2 separate regions of the Homo sapiens genome follow, and region 1 is linked to region 2. Evidence: promoter capture Hi-C in human tissues and cell types (Jung and others, 2019). All regions are on one chromosome and are shown on one strand. Each heading gives the region's core, a stretch centred on a gene start or on the middle of the fragment in contact. The rest is flanking DNA. Distances are from core to core; before and after follow the strand shown.

Region 1 (3,215 bases), core at 133-2,632, 190 kb before region 2:
TTTATTATAAATCCATAATTTAACCAAATATTACACAAATTGATGTAATATGAATAGGGAAAGTAGAGTTGTGTCTATAAAAGCTAACGTGGATTATTTAGCAGGTCATTAAACACTTATTTAAGGCTGGGTGTGGTGGCTCATGCCTGTAATCCTAGCACTTTGGGAGGGGAAGCAAAAGGATCTCTTGAGGCCACAAGTTAGAGACCAGCCTGGGTGATATATTTTGTCTCTACCAAATAAATTAGCCAGTTATAGTGGTGCACACCAGTAATCCTAGCTACTCAGGAGACTGAGGTGGGAGGATTGATTGAGCCCAGGAGTTGAAGATTACAGTAACCTAAGATTATGTCATTGAACTCAATCATGAGCAACAGAACAAGACCCTGTATCTTAAAAATAAAATTAAAAAAAAGGTATTTAGGGCCAGGTGTGGTGGCTCACAACTGTAATCCCATTACTTTGGGAGGCCAAGGTGGGTGAATCACGCGGTCAAGAGTTCGAGATCAGCCTGGCCAACATGGTGAAACCCCCTCTCTACTAAGAATACAAAAATTAGCCTGGCATTTTTGTATCACATTTTGGATCACAGGTGGTGAGTGCCTGTGATCCCACCTACTCAGGAGGCTGAGGCAGGAGAATTGCTTGAACCAGGGAGGTGGAGTTTGCAGTGAGCCGTGATCACACCACTGCACTCCAGCCTGGGTGACAGAGCAAGACTCCGTCTCAAGGTGGGGGTGGAAGGAAGTATTTAAATTAGCAGTGGACAAGAGACCTGTAAAAGAGTTGGGAGTGGGGCAATGACAAAGCTTTGAAAAGAATATAGATATTGCTTCATAAGTATCTTTAAACCAAAGTTGGAAATCACAGACTTATGCCTTATGGGTGTAATTTACACAAGAAAGAAAATGAATAAATTCAATCTGCATAGTTGTATCGCTTTTACAAAATGATTGGTGAATTAATATACATTTGCAAGTTTATATACTTTTATGTTGAAATATTAATGTGTGAGCCATTTTTGTGTGTGTGTGATTCTCTATTTCAACCAGCTTTTAAAATTACCTATCAGCCCTGGCTGGGCATGGTGGTTCACACCTCTAATCCCAACACTTTGGAGGCTGAGACAGGAGGATCACTTGAGAACAGGAGTTTGTGGCCAGCCTGGGCAACATAGGGAGACCTTGTCTCTACAAAAAAACATTTTTTTAATTAGCAAGGTGTGACGGCACATGCCTGTAGTCCCAGCTACTGGGAAGGCTTAGGCCAGGGGATTACTTGGACCTGGGAGGTTTAGGCTGCAGTGAACTGAGATTGTGCCATTGTACTCCTGCCTAGGCCTCAGAGCGAGACTTTGTCTCAAAAAAATGAAATAGGCTAGGCGCGATGGCTCATGCCTGTAATCCCAGCACTTTGGGAGGCCAAGGCAGACAGGTCATCTGAGGTCGGGATTTCGAGACCAGCCTAGCCAACATGGCAAAACCCCGTCTCTACTAAAAATACAAAAATTAGCTGGATGTGGCAGTGGGCACCTGTAATCTCAGCTACTCGGGAGGTGAGGCAGGAGAATTGCTTGAACCCAGGAGGTGGAGGTTGCAGAGATCTGAGTTTGCACCACTGCACTCCAGCCTGGGCAACAGAGTGAGACTCTGTCTCAAAAATAAATTAATTAATTAAATAAAATAAAAACCTATCAGTCCTGACAGCAATAGATAGAATTACTTTTACTACATTTTACTAATTTCCCTGTTTTACCTAATTGCTGTATCCTTAAAGCCATATCAGAACTCAATTAAGATTTTTTAAAAAACACGTATCTTAAGGAGTCGCTTCCAAGATGGCTGAATAGGAACAGCTCTGGTCTACAGCTCCCAGCAAGATTGACACAGAAGATGGGTGATTTCTGCATTTCCAACTGAGGTACCTGGTTCATCTCATTGGGACTGGTTGGACAGTGGGTGCAGCCCACGGAGGGTGAGCCAAAGCAGGGTGGGGCATTGCTTCACCCAGGAAGCACAAGGGGTCGGGGGATTTCCCTTTCCTAGCCAAGGGAAGCCGTGAGTGACTGTGCTTGGAGGAGTGGTACACTCCTGCCCAAATACTGCGCTTTTCCCACAGTCTTCACAACCATCAGACCAGGAGATCCCTTCCCATGCCTGGCTCAGCAGGTCCCACACCCACGGAGCCTTGCTAGCTGCTAGCACAGCAGTCTGAGATTGACCTGGGACGTGGGAGCTTGGTGGGGCAAGGGGCGTCTGCCATTGGTGAGGCTTGAGTAGGCAGTTCTGTGCTCACTTGGAGTAAACAAAGTGGCAGGGAACCGCGAACTGGGCAGAGCACACCACAGCTCAGCAAGGCCTACTGCTTCTCTAGATTCCACCTCTGGGGGCAGGGCATATCTGAACAAAAGGCAGCAGACAGCTTCTCCAGACTTAAACGTCCCTCCTGGACAGCTCTGAAGAGAGCAGTGGTTCTCCCAGCGTGATGTTTGAGCTCTAAGAATGGACACACTGCCTCCTCAAGTGGTTCCCTGACCCCTGTGTAGCCTGACTAGGAGACATCTCCCAGTAGGGGCCGACAGACACCTCATACAAGCAGGTTCCCCTCTGAGACGAAGCTTCCAGAGGAAGGATCAGGCAGCAATATTTGCTGTTCTGCAGCCTCTGCTGGTGATACCCAGGCAAACAGGGTCTGGAGTGGACCTCCAGTAAACTCCAACAGACCTGCAGCTGAGTGGCCTGTCTGTTAGAAGGAAAACTAGCAAACAGAAAGGAATAGCATCAACATCAACAAAAAGGACATCCACACCAAAACCCCATCTGTAAGTCACCAACATCAAAGACTAAAGGTAGATAAAACCACAAAGATGGGAAGAAACCAGAGCAGAAAGGCTAAAAAATTCCAAAAACCAGAATGCCTCTTCTTCTCCAAAGAAACACAACTCCTCACCAGCAAGGGAACAAAACTGGATGGAGAATGAGTTTGACAGGTTGACAGAAGTAGGCTTCAGAAGGTCGGTAATAACAAACTTCTCCGAGCTAAAGGAGCATGTTCTCACCCATTGCAAGGAAGCTAAAATCTTTGAAAAAAGGTAGGACAAATGGTTAACTAGAATAACCAGTGTAGAGAAGAGCTTAAATGACATGATGGATCTGAAAACCACAGTACAAGAACTTAGTGAAGCATACACAAGCTTCAATAGCCGATTCAATCAA
Region 2 (3,079 bases), core at 532-3,031:
TTGCAATCCTTTTTTTCAGATCATTTGGAATCTGTTTTCTGTTCAAACGAGCTGTCCCAACTGCATCAGTCCTATTTTGATGTAATTCTCTGAAAAGCATGGGAGATATATTAAAGTTATCGAGGAAGACACAATACCCTTGGCCAAGAAGGTCATTGACCAAGGTAAGAACAATGCGTGATGATTTCAGGCCATCCGCTGAATCTTTCAAATTCATGCCAGGCCCTGTGTGAACAAGCGCATTCCACACATAACCAGACTGACTTTCACAAAGTACATATAGCTTCAGACCAAATCGTACTCGTTTTGTCGGGAGGTACTGCTTCATAGCTAATGGCCCCTTGAACAGCATCAGTGATTCATCAACTGCAATGTTTCTGTTTGGAGTATATACAGTGGAAAATTTATTTACAAGAAAGTCGAACACAGGTTTGATCTTCTGCAATGAAATCTGGGCCTTTGATTGACCAGCAGATATAGAAGAATTGTTGACAAAATGCAGGCACCGAAACAAAAGTAAAAATCTTTCACCAGTCATAATTTGCCTGAGATAAGGTGTATCCAAAAGAGGCCTTGTTGACCAAAACATCTCCAGCTCAGGTTTCTGCACAATACCTTGCAGTAACATTACTGCAAAAAAGACTTTGAGCTCGTCATTGTCAGTGTCTTTCCATTTATCCATTCGCGAAAATCCTTTCGGACCCGGTGGCTTTGAAGCCAACAAGGCAGCTTGGGCATTTGTTTCTCTAGTAATTTTTGAAACTAATTCCTCAGTAAAGAACAGTTCAAAATACTGCAATGGGTCAGTGATATCACTGACATCGACTTTTCTGCCAGGTGTGCCGGTAAAGTCATACCTTTGACGTGGAATCATAGCACGAGCTGACCATTTCATGGAGCGCCCTGAGTCACTTGATGTAGAGCTCTTTCCATCAGATTCTAAATGGGACAGAGGCCTGATCTTATCGGCTTCTAAAGCACTATCCGAAAAATTATCAGAATCATCTATTTCCGAAAAATCAGATTCATCAAATGAATCTTCAGCCAACAACTGTTCGAGACCGGTATTACTATCACGCATAGGAATGCTACGTTTTCTAGGATTTGACATTTCAGCGATCGAGAATTACTATATTTTGTAGATGGAAATCCCACTACTAAAAACAGAATGCTATAAACAGAATGATGTCTTTTGTTTCAAAAGTCAATATACCAGAACCATGCGAAAATAACAGAAGCGAGATATTTCGTGGCAAACTTTGGGAGTAAGGTTGGCACTGTAATCCACGAGTTATCTCGGCGTAAACGCTGCAGTCGCAGGCACAGCAGCGCGTAATCTCGGGGCTAAGGAGAAATGAGTTAAACGCACACAGACAGAAGAAGCCTTTCATCTCATACGTCTTGGGGAGTCTCTAGAAGTTTTTTGAAAGGTCTCTTCTGGATGGTGTTTCTCCCGAAGCCAGTCTCGTCATCTTTTACTCCCGTGAGGTCCTTGGCCTCCGTGGCTGCCGCAGCAACACACACTTGACTTTCACTTCATGGGCAGTCCCCTTCATAGGCACTTGACACAGGCTCTGTGCGCCGTCTTCCAATCCAGAGTGCCGGGAGTTAAGGGCAGTACTTCCGCCTTACTTCCGCCTCGCTAGTCGATCGGCCATGATCTCTTCCCTCTGGTTGGATCCCACAGCTTATGACAGAAACGGGCGCGCAGTGATGACAACATCAAGCCGCCAGCGGCGGCGGTGGCGGCCGGGAGACTGGGAGGGCTTCCGGGGCTGCCGGTCTGAGTGCAGAGCTGCTGTCATGGCGGCCGCTCTGTGGGGCTTCTTTCCCGTCCTGCTGCTGCTGCTGCTATCGGGGGATGTCCAGAGCTCGGAGGTGCCCGGGGCTGCTGCTGAGGGATCGGGAGGGAGTGGGGTCGGCATAGGAGATCGCTTCAAGATTGAGGGGCGTGCAGTTGTTCCAGGGGTGAAGCCTCAGGACTGGATCTCGGCGGCCCGAGTGCTGGTAGACGGAGAAGAGCACGTCGGTTTCCTTAAGTGAGCATCCTGAGGGCAGCGGGAAAAAGGCTGGGATGGAGGCCGGACAGGGACCCCACCAGGAGAGTTAAGTGTCAGGACGGGACAACGTCGCTGTCTCAGACTGAAGGGGAGGGTGCCGCTAACGGTCTATGCCGGGAGACCTTGGGAGGCAGTCGGATGCTTTCCCTTTCCTGGTCCTGTACCTCTGGAATGAGCATGGCAGGCGCTCACCCCCTGCCATGGTCAGAGCATGGAGTCAGTTATTTCCAACCTTATTTTGGCCCCATGTGGGGACGATCATTCCTGGGCCCTGGGGACAGGTGGACCCTTATTAGTCTCTTGTTGGATTCTTTTATATCTCATCTGGTTTCCCTAGAACCTAGTCGTTTTTTGCATTCACTTCAGTCTTTTGGTAGCTTGTTATTATGTAGAAAGATGCGACACAAGTGGGAATTCTCAAAACCCAAAGGGCTTCTAGTGACGACATAGACTGGGAGGCTAATGTTACTGCTTCTAAAATTAATAGGCTCTGAAATCCCTAATCAAAGCACTTTTTTTTTCTTTTTTTTTTTGCTTGGGGGTGGGATCGTTGTTCTTTTTTACAGTTGAATTCATCGAGAGATTTGCTATATCACACTTGTCATTTATGTGAGACTAGGGTTCCTCTACATTGCTTTCTTGCTTCTGTCCTTTCATGCTATTAGTGGAAGTGGGTTTTCTGTCTATATTAAAAGACAGGATGAATTTGTTAGCACTAGTTTTGCAGCAGCCTGCTTTTGAAATGTCTAGGCACGCGTATGTTGTTTTAAATCTTTCCACCCTTACTTGGAGGTGAAACTGTAAACTGAAAGCAAATAATTAGGAAGTATTTCCTTTGGTGGGTTCGTACACCAGCAAATGGTATCTGAAAATCAGACAACTTAAATGTAGACATTTAAATCCAAATCTGATTTACATATTTGTTCAGATCATCTAAGTGCCCTTGAGTGGTTATTCAACCTCAGATTAATAAATAGTGACAAATTTACAACCAGTATTTTACTGCTGTCTGTCATTAA

The links. The method cuts DNA at HindIII sites, captures the fragments that hold promoters and counts their contacts. A contact is called where the count stands out against the background at its distance.
Region 1: a fragment that was not itself captured here is called in contact with the fragment with the promoter of EMC7 in region 2 in 1 of the 25 tissues and cell types used here (H1 embryonic stem cells).

Annotation. Positions count from the first base shown.
Region 1 is chr15:34,291,764-34,294,978 of GRCh38, reverse strand. The region is part of intron 2 of SLC12A6 (solute carrier family 12 member 6); the gene reads left to right. Among named protein-coding and RNA genes, the nearest start is that of SLC12A6, 44 kb to the left of the region's middle. RefSeq lists a silencer at 1,568-1,787. The HindIII fragment of the contact is 4,166 bases long and covers 1-3,215 here.
Region 2 is chr15:34,100,564-34,103,642 of GRCh38, reverse strand. It overlaps EMC7 (ER membrane protein complex subunit 7), which reads left to right and starts at 1,781. Exons shown (of 5, transcript NM_020154.3): 1 at 1,781-2,039. The coding sequence starts at 1,804. It overlaps PGBD4 (piggyBac transposable element derived 4), which reads right to left and starts at 1,560. Exons shown (of 1, transcript NM_152595.5): 1 at 1-1,560. The coding sequence starts at 1,111. RefSeq lists enhancers at 1,351-1,440, 1,471-2,170, 1,780-2,637. The HindIII fragment of the contact is 11,801 bases long and covers 1-3,079 here.